Regions from separate parts of the Homo sapiens genome. Here all the other regions are linked to region 1. The links are contacts of gene promoters, found by promoter capture Hi-C in blood cells and fetal thymus (Javierre and others, 2016). All regions are on one chromosome and are shown on one strand. Each heading gives the region's core, a stretch centred on a gene start or on the middle of the fragment in contact. The rest is flanking DNA. Distances are from core to core; before and after follow the strand shown.

Region 1 (4,634 bases), core at 1,006-3,505:
AAAATAATGTGAGGCAGGAGAATAGGGTTTGGAGGCAGGGAACCTAAGGCTGAGTAAAGTTGACTTCCTAGAACTGAATCAAAAGGAAAACCCCAACTTTCCACACCTAAGTAACAAAAAGACTACTCCCTTTGCAAATCCTCTTCCTTTTCCGCTTGGCAGATGGAAAACTGAAAGTATCTCTGATTGGTTGCAGAAAGCAGATGTTTGTATAGCAGTGTAACTTTGTAACTTCACTTTAGCCTCTGATTGGTTGCTGTCCACAACCAATTAGATGCTTGCATAGGGTGTGACCCTTGTAACTTCACTTTAGCCTCTGATTGCGGGCCACTACTTTATTTACATAGGGTGTACACCAAGTAACCAATGGAAAACCTCTAGAGAGTATTTAAATCCCAGAAAATTCTGTAATGGGGGTCTTGAGCCCCTGTGCTCTGGCAGCTCCTGCAGTCTTGTGGAGTGTACTTTCATTTTCAACGTGTCTCTGCTTTTGTTGCTTCATTCTTTCCTTGCTTTGTGCATTTTGTCCAATTCCTTGTTCGAAACGCCAATAACCTGGTAACATGTTGACTATTTACTATTTTTCTCATAGTGAAGTCAGTTGAACAGCAAGCACATTTCTGTGCTGCCTTGTGATGGAGTACATCATTCAAATTCACTGCATTTACCAAGGAGAAAAAAATGACTCCTGTAAATTGTATGTTGAAATGATATTTAATGTGTACAAGACAAAATCAGTATAGCAGGTACAGAGGTCTGGTTTCTATAATTGCCAACTGAACTCAAACATTTGAAAGATATAATTGCAATGTGTACAGGCGTCTGTTGATTAAAAAGTTGCCTGAGGCCAGGCGCGGTGGCTCACCCCTGTAACTCCAGCACTTTGGGAGGTCGAGGTTGGAGGATGGCTTGAGCTTAGATGTTTGAGACCAGCCTGGGCAACAGACAGACCTACCTCATCTATACCAATACATAAATACATAATTAGCTGGGCTTGATGGCACGCGCCTGCAGTCCCAGCTGCTTGAGAGGCTGAGGTGGGAGGATTGCTTGAGCCTAGGAGGTCGAGGCTGCAGTGAACTGCGTCACGCCACTGCACTCCAGCCTGGGTGACAGAGCTAGACCCTGTCTCAGAAAAAAAAAAAAAAAAAGTTGCCTGAGCCTATCAGATTTTCAAAGTGTTTCATTCAAAAAAGGCTCCCCTCTTGCTATCCCAGTAGAAAGCAGCAACCCTGTCACCTAACCCCGACAGGAGCTCTTGCATATTTCAAGAAAAATAAATAGAATGAACTAAAGCATGCATGGCAGAATAAATTTGGAAATAAATTTCGAAGCGATTAGATTTTAGAGGACTTGTTTGTGATTAGCAGAGATTACCAATGTAAAATCAAATTATAGATCATAAAAGCGGGAAAGGCATTTACAGATCATCCAGCCAAGCTTCCTCTGTAATGAGAAGGAAGCAGATCTAAATTGATTGGTTTGTGAGCTAAACATCACATCAAATTGGGGAAATGGCCCGTGTGTGTGTGTGTGTGTGTGTGTGTGTGTGTGTGTGTGTGTGTATTCTAAGAGACACTTTATTCAATATGGAAAGAATTTTATGCAGCGTTCAAGTTGGTCTTATGTCGTCTGCACACATATACATATATATAAGTATATTATACACATATACATTTCCAAGCATGTTGGTGTGCCAAATATTATGTATAAAACATCTAGGAAAGCAAATAACTTGATGATAGCCTAGCATATAGGAAAGAAAATACTTACATAGGATGGCCATACAGATTAGTGGTTAAGAGTGTCTGGTGAATCTCGGCTCCACTACTGTGGGACTTTGTGTCTTGGTTTCCTCATCTGGAAAATGTAGGTTTGTCTACCTCAGAGAGTGTAAAGATTAAATGAGATAACCCGGATAAAGGATTAGTGTAGTGCCGAGCATATAGTAAACTCTCAATAAATGTAGGTTGCTGTTATTACTTCGTTAATATGTCAAAGAAAAAAGAGGTTGGACCAAAAGAGCATTTTCAAAATAAAGTCAAACTATGTCACTAGCACTTTCAGGTCAATTGGGACTAAATTGGACCCCCTGCGAAAAGGTGGAGGGGATCAAATGACGTCGACCGCCTTAGCAACAGGCCCCCAAAGAAGGTGAATTTCCGTAGCCAATAAGACTCTGTGCTTTGGAGGAGGTAGCCAATGGCTGACGGAAAGAGAAAGAGGGAGGACGCGCCAATTCTCCTGCCTGAGCCTCGGCCCAACAAAATGGCGGCGGCAGCGGTGTCGCTTTGTTTCCGCGGCTCCTGCGGCGGTGGCAGTGGTAGCGGCCTTTGAGCTGTGGGGAGGTTCCAGCAGCAGCTACAGTGACGACTAAGACTCCAGTGCATTTCTATCGTAACCGGGCGCGGGGGAGCGCAGATCGGCGCCCAGCAATCACAGAAGCCGACAAGGCGTTCAAGCGAAAACATGACCGCTGAGCCCATGAGGTAAAACGCAACCCCGTCTCATGGGCCCCAGCGGTCTGGGCCCAGGCACCGTCTGAGTCGGGTGTTTGGGAAGGCGTTCGCTTGGTGGGTTAGGCCTGTGTGTTGCTTAGCCGAAAGAGGCATCGTTTTCTCTTTAGGTGAGAAGGGTTTCGGGGTATCGGCGCAAGGCTCCGACGGGGGTGGGGGTGGGGATGGGGTGGGGGGAGGTGGGGGGGGCGCGGCCTAGGGTATGGGGCGCTTCTTGCAATCTCCCCTAAACGGTGACGCTTGGTCGGGCTCCTCTGTTTATTCTTTGGTGCCTGTGGGATTGAGACCTCGAAGTCGGAGGCGGTCTTTGGTATCCCGGTCATTTTTGCTAATCTTTGGGCCTAGAAACTGCGTGGGGAAGAAGCGGGGGGAGGGTGAGAAGAGGGGGAGGGGTGGGCGGGCGCGAGGATGTGAGATCCCAGGACGACTTAGAGGCGTTTAGGTTGCTGGAGATGGGAAGCACCCGGGCCCTGCGGGATTTTTTTTCTGCAGCCCCAGGAGACAAGCCTTTTTTTGATTGGGTTGTGGTGCAGTTCCAGGTATTTAGGTATCTTTTCTACTCCATATCCTGAAGGATATCCTTGGGTTTATTTCTAGGCGAGGGGGGACTTAACACAGGGTTTTGCTTCCAGAGGACCCTAGTATACTACTTTTTGTGATGTCCAGCCTTAATGGGACCTCAAGTGTTTCCCCACTTTCTGGGCAAATTTCGAGGAGTAATTAGGCCCTATCTTTATTTACTTATTTATTCCATGAAGGATGAAGGGCAGGTTAACGTGGGCTGATGCGAAGTAAGATTTATTGCAAGGGAAAATGCCTGGCAGGCCTCCTCTTAACCAATCAAGCACGTTTATTAGGTTGAAGCTGTTTTTCTGTGTGCTTCTGATTTGCCTCTTGACGGGTCTGAAAATTTGGGTAGTCAATATGAAATGTATACACTTTTACCCAGGTGGCTGGCTGGCGTTTCAGTTTGACATTTGAATTTTCATCCCACAATGTGAATTAAGTAATTTTTTTACTCGGAGATGCATCCTTGGCGTCCAGTGGCAAAATAAAATTACAAGGAGCATGGGTCAGAATTGCATTTCAAGTTGGCGAAATGTGCCTTTGAGTAACTCTTAGATTGGCATATGTTTTTAGAGCAATTTAGCTAGAATGTAGAATTGGGCAATGAGCCTATGATACGTATGTCTGTATTTCTGCATGAACAAGCAGTAGATTATATTTTCTTTACCTTGGGGAAAGATATGCTTCAGTTCTTAGATTGTAGATCTCTAGTTGTGTACACGATTGTGGCCTTGGTTTCTGAATTTGTCAGTAGGCTCAAATACAACAAATCTTTATCTGTGGGGTATTAGGCACGTAAGTGGTACCCAGTATAACTTGTTGGCCTGTAATTACCAGGCACTCATGTTCATATGCATGGATGGTGTACCTTACAGTTAAATTATGACCTCTAGATTTTACTAAGTTTCACAAAGTCTACATTTGAAACTATAGTTTGAAGTCGGATCTTCTCAGTTTCTTTAGAATGAACAAATTACGTATATAGAATTTCTGAATAGAATAATTAATTTTACACAAGGGTCAGTTTTTCTTACTAGTCTTGGATTTTTGTAGATCTTGATGATAAGAGTAATAATCATAACTAAGTTGAGTGCTTATTGTCGTTCTTTATAATCTTGATGAATTCTCAAACCTGTGAGGTAAGTACTTGGTTTTGCCCATTTTACCGATGAGGAGGAAAGTGAGACATAGATCAAGAACTTGACCGAAGTTATACAGCTTGTAATTGGTGGAGCTGGAATTGAACCCCATCTTGACTTCACAGCTTATGTTCTTAACCACAAGGCATTAATGCCCCCTTCAGCTGCCAGGTCTAACCTGATTATGACCATTTAAATTTAGCCCAAGTGTTACAATGAAAGAAGTTCATATTACCTACTCTGATTTGTTGCAGGTCTATGATTTTGTAGCTGTTTATAATGTTACATTTTTTGTGTCCAGGTGTACTATGTAGTGAGATAACTGAAATATTTAATGCTAGGAGAGTCTTAAGCTACATGAAAAACCTCTAGTAAAGAACTGCATATATGCATGTAGGGAATTAATTAAAAA
Region 2 (3,365 bases), core at 1-2,500, 230 kb before region 1:
ATAATCAAAGAGTAGGCAAATGCAATGGTGGTTGCCAGCACAATCAGTACGTCCATATTTGCTGTCTTATGCTTCAGTGCTTTATAAGCCTGAATGTAGAAGTACCAGCCTCCGAAAAACTGCAATATAGGAATGATAATCATTGAATTTTAAAAAATGCTGAAATTCACATATATATCTCAATAACTTAAAGTATCAATAGTCACTTTCTTTGGCTTTTAGCTAATCCATAAACACTAAAGGGAGATTAAGCCAAAACAATCGTGTTTGTATTTCAATAGATGTACATGCAGAGGGAGGTATTCAAATTGCTGCACAAGCCTGTGGGGCTATCATCTATGATCCAATGGATATTCCATAATACAAGGAAAATCAGATATTTCTTCCTTTTTTTTTTTTTTTTTTTTAAGAGACAGTCTTGATATGTTGCCCAGGCTGGTCTCAAACTCCTGGCCTCAAGCAATCCTCCTGCCTCAGCCTCCCAAGTAGCTGGGATTATAGGCATGAGCCATCACACCAAGCAGATTTTTCTTTCTGAGGCTAGCAAAAACAAGAACTAAGAAAGGAATTACATTTTCTCAAGGATTTTTTTGTATAAAACTCACCCATCTTTCCAAAACTCAAACTAACTGGTATATCACAAGCTACGAAATCTGTTGGCCGTTTTTGTTGGTAAATATAACTGGAAAGCTTATTTCATTAAAACAGAGAAACTAAGATGTTTTTTAAAATCATTATTGCCTTTTATAAGGATCAGATAAAGGAAAAGATTTATTTGATAGAAGTATTCTATTCCAAAGTAAAAGTTTATCTCGAAAAAAGAGTTTAAAACATACAGAAAGTAATGAACTGAAGTGCCAGGAAGAAATAACAAAAATAAAGTCATTGAGCTGGGTGCAGTGGCTAGTGCCTGGAAGTCCCAGCTACTCAGAATGCTGAGGCAGAAGGAATGCTTGAGCCCAGGAGTTCAAGACCACAGTGAGCTGTGCTTACACCACTGCATTCCAGCCTGGGTGACAGAGCAAAACCCCATCTCTAAAAAAAAAAAAATAGATAAATAAAAATTTAAAAATAAAATAAAGTTATATACAGTAGCAGATATAAATACCAAACCCAAAAAACTTGAACTCTTTCTTAGGGGTTAAATGGCATCTATTATCAACTTAAATAACTACCCAGTTGAAGATTATTTTTGTAAAGCATATGGCATAAAATGATCAGACTTCTAGCTAACATCAGTTTTGTAGCTGAAAATAAACCTTGCCTGCCAAATTTTGCTTATTTTTTATTATTAACAAATATATTTGCTAACAATTCACTTGCCTGTACAGGTACACACAATAAAAAGGACAGCAAATTCATAACAGACAATCCTGGAAGAATCTGGCGCTCCAGGAACATAGAAGAATGAAGGTTGATCATTTCTTCTTTACTCATGTTTTGATTATGGTGAAGAGTTGCAAAGTGGTGGTCCATAACCATCATATATATCATCAGCCCCATTACAGGAATACAGAAAAACAGACTCACAAGAAAAGACCGTCTCCATCTTATATGGAAAAAATAAAAAAAGAAAAATCATGGTCATAAATAGCTAATGGGTAAAGATTCTACATACTACAGAGAGATATACATTGTGACCATTTCATCCAGTATAAGGATGATATTATAAAAACTGACATGCAAAAAAAAATTTGTAATAAGGAGTCAAAATCTGTTTTTTACTGACACTCCAAAGTACTTACTGTCTTATTTCTCGTTTATGATCTAAGTGACTTGCTGACCGATCCTTCTTGACCAAAGAAGCTTCAAAACCTAAGCTCTAAGGAAATTCATGAGAAAAAAATTATTTCACTGAACATATAAATATTGTATAGAGAAATTCTAAGCCATGGTATTGTCATTAAGAACAGTTCAATTACTGAGGGCAAGTCACTCTGGGGAATACAAAGATGAAGATGTGCTTCCTGCTCTTGATTGCATTTGTTTCCAATCTTTCATCAAACAAATAAATATTTCCTTAATGCTAGTTAATATGTATCCTATATATAAGAGTTTAACTCAAGTACAACTGTCCTCAGTAGAGGTTCTCATTAATAGGCCATAAAAGCTAGCACCAGGCCGGGCACGGTGGCTCATGCCTGTAATCCCAGCACTTTGGGAGGCCAAGGTGGGCAAATCACAAAGTCAGGAGTTCGAGAGCAGTATGGCCAACACGGTGAAACCCCGTCTCTACTAAAAATACAAAAAATTAGCTGGAAATAGTGGCAGGTGCCTGTAATCCCAGCTGCTCGGGAAGCTGAGACAGGAGAATCGCTTGAACCCAGGAGGCGGAGGTTGCAGTGAGCTGAGATCGCACCACTGCACTCCAGCCCAGGCGACAGAGTGAGACTCTGTCTCCAAAAAAAAAAAAAAAAAAAAAAAAAAGCTAGCACCATACTAAACATATTATTCAAGGCCTTGCATATGCAGTATTTAGTCTTGTTTTATCAGAAAAAGAACATGAACAAAAATCATTTTCCCCAATAAAACAAAGTATAAAAAGGAAACTACCCCTAAGCAAGACTTATCTGACCATAGATAGTAATACACATTACATTTCCAACTGCTAGGGGAAATGCTGCCATCTTACATTTGTTGGCAGTGCACAGTGAATAGAACAAGCATGAGCTTTTGGAGTCAGAGTAATTAGGCTCAAATCCCAGTTATGACAGTTATTAGCTATGTGACTTTGGATAAGTAACTTAACTTCTCTTAACCTGGGTTTCCTCACCTCCAAAATGAATATGACCACATTGCTGTGGGAATTAAGGGTTGAAGCTTTGCAATCTTGGTAACTGGCACATAGCAGGTACTCAGTAAAACTAGTTTCACAAAAATGGTAATGATAATGTCATCTATACAAATAGGATCTTAACTGAACTAATAAAATGCTTTAAATCACTTGAACACCAATTCTATAGCATACTGAAACTTTTAAAATACATTCACATGTATTACCACTTAAGACTTATTGAAGAACACAGGATGAATCTGTCACAAAGAAAGGATTGTGTTTGTTTGTTTGTTTGTTTTAGAGACAAGGTCTCTCTCACAGTAACCTTCAACTCCTGGACTTAAGCAATCCTCCTACCTCTGCTTCTCGTGTGATTAATACTATGGGTGCGTGGCACCACACCTGGCTAGTTATTTTAATTTTTGTTGCAGAGACAGGGTCTCGCTACATTGCCCAGGATGGTCTTGAACTCCTGGCCTCAAGTGATTGTGCCCTCTAGGCCTCTCAAAATGCTGAGATTATAGGCATGAGCCACTATGTCCAGCTGGGTTTAGTCTTTTAAATTTCTTACTTTAACTTAAAAATAGGT
Region 3 (4,320 bases), core at 651-3,150, 240 kb before region 1:
AAATAAGAAAAAGGTCTGTTTTGACAAAGAGATGACTATTTAGTTTCTTAGTAAACTGACCTTTGACTTAATTTGACTTAAAAAACTGATGGTCTTCGGGAAAATAAAAGAAGAAATACTCTTAGTTATACACAACAGCTCTCCTCTGCCAATGCTGAACTGTTTGTTCATGCTAAATAACTGTGAATATATGTTAAACAACTAGAGCTAATTTTTAAGGGTTGACTGTTAATAGGTAATTAAGAGACGCCTCTAGTGCCTCAAGGTAAAAAAGAAAGGCTTTCAATATAATGAATTATAGATCTGATGAGGAAATCTAAGCAGTAGGGAAATGATTATAAGAATAAAGGTAAATGGCCAGGTGCGGTGGCTCAAGCCTATAATCCCAGCACTTTCAGAGACTGAGGTGTATGGATCACCTGAGGTCAGGAGATCGAGACCAGCCTGGCCAACATGGTGAAACCCCGTCTCTACTAATAATAAAAAGTTAGCTGGGCATGGTGGTGCATGCCTGTAATCCCAGCTACTCGGGAGGCTGAGGCAGGAGAATCGCTGGAACTTGGTGGGTGGAGGTTGCAGTGAGCCGAGATCGCACCACTGCACTCCAGCCTGGGCCATAGAGCGAGACTTCATCTCAAAAAAAAAAAAAAAGAAAGAAAGAAAGAAAAGAAAAATAAACCAACAAAGTATGATTCTGGACAGGGGAAAAATAGCTATAAAGCACATTATTGAGACAACTGAGGAAACTGGAACATGGACTACAGATCAGATAACAACATATCAATATTAATTTATTGATTTTGATAGTTGTACTACAGTTTACATAAGAGAATGTCCTTATTCTTAGGAAAAGAGCCCAACGACTGCAGTAAAGGGCATATAGGAGTTCTTTGTACTAGTCTTGCAACATTTTTTTTTTTTTTTGAGATGGAGTCTTGCTCAGTCGCCCAAGCTGGAGTGCAGTGGCGCGATCCCAGCTCACTGCAACCCCTGCCCTCCGGGCTCAAGCGATTCTCCTGCCTCAGTCTCCTGAGTAGTTGGGATTACAGGTGTGCCAACTCGCCCAGCTAATTTTTGTATTTTTAGTAGAGACGGGGTTTCACCATGTTGGTCAGGCTGGTCTCAAACTCCTGACCTCGTGGTCCGCCTGCCTCAGCCTCCCAAAGTGCTGGGATTACAGGCGTGAGCCACTGTGCCAGGCTAGTCTTGCGACTTTTAAGTTTGAAATTATATCAAAGTTTAAAATGTCTATAAAAATTACTAGCCTGTATTCTCTGGCGAGGTGAGTTTCCAGATTTGTTCTAAGATATGTTCTATGTTTACTATATACCTCTGTACATAGCTTACATCCTCATAATAAGAACATACTAGTAGAAACATGGTTTTAGTTGAAGTCAAGTAGCTTTGAGATGATTATGGAAATCCTAATATGAGATCAGAGATAGGATTATATTCCTAAAGTCATAGCTGCAAACTGTCGGCTGGTGGCAGCAAAGGCAAAGAAACGGCACTGCAATTGAAGGTCCCAGTGAAGAAAACAAGTCACACACAAATAGGTTAGAAGGCTGCTGGAGTTTGGCAAATTTTCCTGGGCAAACACCTATTCTGTCTTTCTGCCACAAAGACTAGTCTAGTCTGAGCTAGGATAGGAGTCCAGGTTTTCCACATTAGGGTCTGCTCTAATAAATAGGCCTGGAGTAGTTTTAGGAATCTTAGGTAACAAAGGCCAATCTGAAGCAGAACCAAAATAACACCTTTCCTACCTCAAATCTCTGGATAGTCCTAGAAGCAGCTCAGCTCATGGACCACAGAGAAATAATTTAGGAGTATGTGTTTCTCACATGTGAGGGGTGCTATTGATAGTTTGGTGGTACAGGTTTTAGTTCTGGGGACTGTCTTACCTTATGAGCCATCTCCAATGGCTCTCCACCTTTTATTAGTATGCCATTTTGAGCACCTACTCCTGTACCCACCATCACAGCAGTTGGAGTGGCCAGTCCCAGTGAACAGGGACATGCAATACACAGAACTGTGATAGAGGCTTGGAAAGCAAATCGTATTATCGTTTCTGTTCGGGAGATACTTCTATTGTAGCCCTTTAGAAGAAAGGCATAAATTTTGGTTATTGATTTAGAGCTGTACAAAACAAAAGACACAAAACTTAACACTATTTAAATAAAACCACAATTTAAAAAGTGACATATCCTACCTAGCTACCTACATATATTTTTTAGTTACAGGTAAGAAAACACTTTCTTTCTTTTATGAATATAAGAAATTGGGACATACTGAGATTCCAGAATTACAAACTATGGACTGAATATAAGTGCTCCATATTGAGAATGAATGTTTTTATTAGAAATTTTCAGAAATAGCTGCAAATGTGAGACATAATTTTCAAAAAATTTGATACTGAATAAACAGAATTCTCAATCTCTGTAGAGTAAAACCATAATTCTGCCTTTCACACTATTCTTGAAAGACAATGAAAAAGAATCACATGGCATGCAAAGGGACCTTAGTCATATTTCAACAAAATCCTTTTGGACATAACAATGTGAACCAAGTATATCTGCTAATTAAGCTCTTAGTGACGTTCAGTGTTTGCTCATGTGGGAAAAATATAATTGGTAGTTTTAGAAGAAATCTAAGACATCCTGAACTCATGAGAAAAATTCCTGAAGGAAACACATTCCAAGCTACTTGCTGGTCTGTGCACGGGCTCACATCTGTAATCCCAGTACTTTTGGAGGCTAAGGCAGGAGGATCATTTGAGGCCAGGAGTTTGAGACCACCCTGGGCAACATGGTAAGACCTCATCTCTACAAAAAAAATTTGTGAAAAATTAGCCAGGTATGGCCGGGCACAGTGGCTCACGCCTGTAATCCCAGCACTTTGGGAGGCCAAGGCAGGTGGATCACCTGAGGTCAGGAGTCCGAGACCTGCCTGGCCAACATGGTGAAACCCCGTCTCTATTAAAAATGCAAAAATTAGCTGGGCATGGTGGCACATGCCTGTAATCCCAGCTACTTGGGAGGCTGAGGCACAAGAATTGCTTGAACCTGGAAGGCAGAGGTTGCAGTGAGCCGAGATCATGCCATTGCACTCCAGCCTGGGTGACAAGAGCGAAACTCGGTCTCAAAAAAAAAAAAAAAATTAGCCAGGGATGGTGGTGCATGCCTGCAGTTGCAGCTACTCGGGAGGCTAAGGTAAGAGAATCGCTTAAGCCCAGAAGTTTGAGGCTGCAGTGAGCCATGATTGCACCACTGCATTCCTGCCTGGGCAACAGAGCGAGACCCTGTCTCAAAAATAAATAAATAAATAAATAAATAAATAAATAAATAAATAAATACCAAAAAAACTTCCCAACAATCCTTTTGTTCAGTGTGTACTAAACAGACATGAATCACTTAAAGAAACTTTTTAATATTACAGTAGTGGGCTGGACACAGTGGCTCATGTCTGTAATCCCATATAATAATATCATATATTGAATAGGGTGTCCTTTCCCCATTGCTTGTTTTGGTCAACTTTGTTGAAGATCAGTTGGTTGTAGGTGTGTGGTTTTATTTCTGGGTTCTCTATTTTGTTCAATTGATCTACATGTCTATTTTTGTATCAATACCATGCTTTTGATTACTATAGCCTTGCAGTATAATTTGAAGTCAGGTAATGTGATGCCTCTAGTTTTATTCTTTTTGCTTAGGATGGCTTTGGCTATTTAGGTTCTTTTTCCATATGAATTTTAGGATTGCTTTTTTAATTCTGTGACAGAGGACATTAGTTTTATAGGAATTGTGTTGAATCTATAGATTGCTTTGGACAGTATGGTAGTTTTAATATTAATGCTTCCAATCCATGGGCATGGAATGTTTTTCCATTTGTTTGTGTCTTCTTCAGTTTCTTTCATCAGTGTTTTATGCTTCTCTCTGTAGAGATCTTTCACCTCCTTGGTTAAATGTATTCCTAGGTATGTTTTGTGTGTGATTATTGTAAATGGGATTGAGTTCTTGATTTAGTTCTCGAGTTGGACGTTGCTGGTGTATAGAAATGCTAATAATTTTTGCATGTTGATTTTATACCCTGAAACTTTACTGAAGTAGTTTATCTGGTCTGGGAGTCTTTTGGAGAAATCTTTATGGTTTTCTAGGTATAGAATCATGTCATCAGGAACAGAGATTTTTTTTTTTTTTTTGAGACGGAGTTTTGTTCTTGTTGCCCAGGCGGCAGTTCAATGGCGTGATCTAGGCTCAGTGAAACCTACACCTCCTGGGTTCGAGCAATTCTCTTCCCTCAGTCTCGCAAGTAGCTGGGATTACA
Region 4 (4,571 bases), core at 1,495-3,994, 240 kb after region 1:
TTGTCTTTATAGTGTTCCTTAGTGATCCATATATCATTGAAAAGCAGTGTTGGAATTAGACTTACTTTTCAAGCAGTAAAATTGAGATGAAGATTGGTTAGTCTGTCACAGTGGGTTTGTGGAAGGAAGAGAATTCGAGCTTTAATTTATATCTTCAGTTAGATTCTTAATTTGCTATCTTAGCTTCATTCACCACTCTACTCATTACTTTATTATTTTTATTTTATTTTATTTCATTTCATTTCATTTCATTTCATTTCATTTTTGAGACAAGGTCTCGTTCTATTGCCTAGGCTGGTCCTGAACTCCTGGCATCATGTGATCCTCCTGCCTTGGCCTCCCAAAGTGTTAGGATTACAGGCATGAGCCACTATGCCTGTCCACTTTATTATTTTAAATCCCCTCATTGGATTCTTACTGTTGCTGCTTTTCCCTTTTGGAAATATAATAGCCTTGACGTCCTGTGAACCTATTTTTTAATAAGTTGATTTAAGGGCCTCCTGAATCATCTCTACCAAGTATCTGTGCATCTTTTTAGTTGTTCAGGATAATGTTTCTCAGCCATTTTGAAACTGTAGCATGATCTAGACTTATAAGTAGTTTAACACAAGTTTCTAGCAATACCGATTTGTTAACTTATTCTTAATGGCTTGTGTTTAAAATGTTAAATTAATAGCTAACCTCTGTTAACGTTTATGTAAATGTTAAATTGATAGCTAACCTGTTAACATTTATGTAAATTATGTTAGAGAAAGTACCTTTTCTGGTAATAAACTTATTAATTATACAGATATCAGAGATGAAAATTTTGGTCAAGGTCATGTTTTATTTTATTTTGAGACAGTCTCACTCTGTCACCCAGGATGGAGTGCAGTGCTGCAATCTCAGTTCACTGCAACCTCCGCCTCTGGGGTTCAAGTGATTCTCGTGCCTCAGCCACCTGAGTAGCTGGGATTACAGGCATGCGCCACCACGCCTGGCTAATTTTTGTATTTTTCATAGAGATGGGCTTTCTCCATGTTGGCCAGGCTGGTCTCGAACTCCTGGCCTCAAGTGATCGACCCACCTCGGTCTCCTAAAGTGCTGGGATTACAGGCATGAGTCACCACCTGCAGCCAAGGTTATATTTTATAATATGCTTAAGTGGGTGTTTTGTTCCTCTTAAGTACAGTATACACAGCCTACTCTGTACCTTTTATTAAGAAAACAAAAGCCAATAAAACTGGCATAGAAATGTTTTTATACTTCCCTTTTCCAGCACTGGACTACGTATGTCTTTTTAAATGTGAACTACTTGATGATTACAGGGAGAACAAAATGGGGATTTAAATTAAAGTATCTTAAGTGAGGCTTTAGGTTTGTTTTCTCTACGCTGAATTTGTGTGCAGTGTTCTCCCCTTTCTTTAGTCCTGTATTCAAACTTTAATACTTCAAAGCATAATTTACTGAACAGAGATGTTATTGTACAGTTTTATTAGCCGGCAGATGGTAATATAAGGTTTCACCTTAGTCATTCTTAATACCAGTGTGAAATACATTCCATTAAAATAATTTGATGTAAAGTATGAAATAGCTAATCCACTTATTTCAGGAACTTTCTGGTAACCTGCCTACATTTACTTTTGAGAATAAAGGTTCAAAATAACACATTTAATTGTAGAGCAAGTGTTAGTAGCCTATGGGGTATGAACCACATGGTGGTATGTGAACCTAATATTTGTTGTCATATTCTTCTAGGAAGCCATGCTCATAATTGAAGCATATATAAGGTTTGATGTCATTGTCTCCTACTTCTTTGCCTTTTTTTTAATCACAGGTTTTGGATTTTTTTGTTTAATAAAACAAGTTTGAATATTATTCCTATCTTTGTATTTACTAGTATAAAATGATTGTTATTCATCTGTATATGAATAGACCACCAGAAAAAATAACGGGCATCAGAAAAATTGTTTGAATTCTACCATTTCTTTGCAGATTACAAAAGTGTCCTATTCGTTTTTTGTTGGGGTGATTGATGCCAAGTAAAAAGAGCAGCTTGTTTAAGCCCTCTCCTAAATAACTTGCCAACCACCCTTTTCAGATGTAATCTTAGGCAAACCATGTAAGCTTTCTAAGCCTCATTTTTCTGAAGAAAATAAGAATAGTGCCAGTACTTCTCTCACAAAGGAGGTAATTCATGTAAACATACTACCTAGCACATAGTAAGTGTTCAAATGTTAGCTGCTGTTTTTGTTTCCATAATTGTTATTAATATTACCATTATAGTAGGTTCATTTCTCTGAAATACTTATGGACTTACATTTTTGGAATTTCAGAGGAGTCATGTGAGGTCCTGATCCTGAGTAGAAAATTAAGCTTGATATATGACAGACCAGTAGAAAACTAAAAACATTTAGGAGCCAGAGGAGATCATCTCAGCTAAGCTGCAGAAGACATAGGTATTTGAGGCTTGCATTCCCCCAGAGATCAGTTGTAATCAGGAAGGAATATATTAGATATTGATCTTCACTTTCAATAAAGTTAGCATGCAGTTGACAAAGAACATTGAAAGGGGTTTTTTTTCTTAAATAATATAAGCAACTTTAGAATAAAGTCTACCTTATAGCCAGCTGATGCTTCTGTAGTAATTTTCCAAAGTAAAGAGATGCTTCTATTTTCCCTCCACAAACTACACAATAAATACTTGTTAACAGACTGACCATACTTTATTTATAGTGCTGTTTTGTCTTATTTTTTATTGTACCACCTTATGACACAAGAAAAACTATTAAGGAGCCATTTACCAAGTCTTTTAGGGAAAACATTTGGGTTACAGAAACCATGGAGCCAATGATACCCTGAGATGGCAGCCTCCCTAACGCTGGCAAGCTGTCTTATAAATAATTGTCCATGGAAACATCAATGTAGATAAGGCAGCCTTGCTGGCAGTGTTGGGGTGGAGGGCAGAGTTGGGGATGGTATGCAAGATTCTATTGGGGAGAGTTTAGGATAGACTTTAAAAAGTGTCTCCTTATGGAGAGTTGGAAGTACTAGAAATATTTGCTGCTTAAGGTCATAGAAATCCTGAAATTTAAAATACCAGGTTTGCATTTAATAAATGCTCATTTAATAAATGAATTAAATGGTAAGCTTTTTTACTTTATAGGCAAATTAAAATATCTATTCTCTCTAGAATATGAACTTCCTATTAGCCTAGGAAGGCAAGAACTATATTAATGCATCTTCATCACTCTATCCCCAATACCTGGCATAATACATAATATAGCACATAGCAAGTATTCAATAAAAATGTGCTATGTGAACAAATGAATTTTTGTGCTAAAATTGCAAGCTAAATGTTGTGAGGCAATAGTTGACATGCCTTTGAAATAGTGTTTTTCCTTGTGTGTACTTCTTGGAGAATCACCTGGTGGCTTGATTAAAAATGCAGATTCCTAGTCGGACACAGTGGCACACACCTCTAATCTCAGCACTTTGGGAGGCCAAGGTGGGAGGATTGCTTGAATCCAGGAGTTCAGGATCAGCCTGGTCAACGTGGCAAGACTCTGTCTCTACAAAAAATTAGCCAGGCTTGGTGGCATGCACCTGTAGTCTCAGCTGTTTTGGAGACTGAGTTGGGAGGATCCCTTGAACCTAGGAGGTCGAGGCTGCAGTGAGCAAGTTTGTACCACTACACTCCAGCCTGGGTGACAGAGTGAGACCCTGTCTCAAAAAAAAAAAAATGCAGATTCCTGGCTTCATCTAAGACCTACTGAATCAGAATTTCTGGAGGTAGGCCTTGGGAATCTATTTTTGACAAGGTCTACCACTCTTGTGTGTACAAGGTATGTAGTAGTATAATTTGCCTTTACAATAGTTATCAGCTAAACCTTTGAATTAAAAAAACAAACAGTATCTAAGCTTTATTGAGCAATGTTTATGCCAGGAACTGTGCTAAGGATTTTACTAGCATTACCTTATTTAATCCTTACAAAGCAGGTACAATTTTTTCTATTTTCTGATGAAATTATGGCATGGAAAGTGGTGGCACCGGGGCTTGAACTCAGTGCTGTGACTCCAGACTCCACACTCTTTAACCATTACACTATACTATCCTGACATTAATATTCTATATGATTAAGCTTGCGGAGAAGTAAATTGAGGTTTGATATGACTTTACACCGTTTTAATCAATACTGTGGGTTTATGGAAAGGCACAGTGTTATCAAGGTGTATAATATTGGGGAGGGTATGGATTTCATCTAGTTACTACACAATCTTACAGTGTCAGAGCTGATCCTAGTCCTCCTTGATTGTCTTTGGTGCTGAACTTACTGATCCTTAGCCCTAAGTCAGTGTAGCAGAGTGGTTAAGGACAGGGGTCCTGGGGCAAGACCAGGGTTTGAATCTTTATCTTAGTCAAAATATCTGACTTCTATGCCTCAGTTTTTTCATTATACTTCTGAGAAATGTATGTCCATTAGTTCTTCAAAAATATCATCCTTTGCATTTTTATTTTTGTCTCTTTCTGAGACTGTTACTATCTGAATGCCTGCTCTTCTAGCCTCCATATCTTTTAGCTTTTCTTTTGC

What was found. Contacts are between HindIII fragments. The CHiCAGO score rates a contact against its expected background, and 5 or more counts as called.
Region 2: a fragment that was not itself captured here is called in contact with the fragment with the promoter of ATRX in region 1 in 3 of 17 cell types (total B cells, neutrophils and naive CD8 T cells); the score reaches 7.7 in total B cells.
Region 3: a fragment that was not itself captured here is called in contact with the fragment with the promoter of ATRX in region 1 in 6 of 17 cell types (naive CD8 T cells, naive CD4 T cells, total B cells and 3 more); the score reaches 6.5 in naive CD8 T cells.
Region 4: a contact is called between a fragment that was not itself captured here and the fragment with the promoter of ATRX in region 1, in 1 of 17 cell types (monocytes). The highest score is 5.2, in monocytes.

What each region holds. Positions count from the first base shown.
Region 1 is chrX:77,783,837-77,788,470 of GRCh38, reverse strand. It overlaps ATRX (ATRX chromatin remodeler), which reads left to right and starts at 2,255. Exons shown (of 35, transcript NM_000489.6): 1 at 2,255-2,489. The coding sequence starts at 2,470. RefSeq lists enhancers at 2,182-2,371, 2,382-2,491 and a silencer at 2,592-2,641. The HindIII fragment of the contact is 7,766 bases long and covers 1,443-4,634 here.
Region 2 is chrX:78,009,633-78,012,997 of GRCh38, reverse strand. ATP7A (ATPase copper transporting alpha) reads right to left here. Exons shown (of 23, transcript NM_000052.7): 8 at 1,746-1,822; 9 at 1,324-1,549; 10 at 1-119. Among named protein-coding and RNA genes, the nearest start is that of PGAM4, 42 kb to the right of the region's middle. The HindIII fragment of the contact is 1,116 bases long and covers 693-1,808 here.
Region 3 is chrX:78,027,026-78,031,345 of GRCh38, reverse strand. ATP7A (ATPase copper transporting alpha) reads right to left here. Exons shown (of 23, transcript NM_000052.7): 15 at 1,902-2,096. Among named protein-coding and RNA genes, the nearest start is that of PGAM4, 60 kb to the right of the region's middle. The HindIII fragment of the contact is 7,213 bases long and covers 1-4,320 here.
Region 4 is chrX:77,545,649-77,550,219 of GRCh38, reverse strand. All of the region lies in intron 30 of ATRX (ATRX chromatin remodeler), which reads left to right. Among named protein-coding and RNA genes, the nearest start is that of FGF16, 100 kb to the right of the region's middle. The HindIII fragment of the contact is 774 bases long and covers 2,358-3,131 here.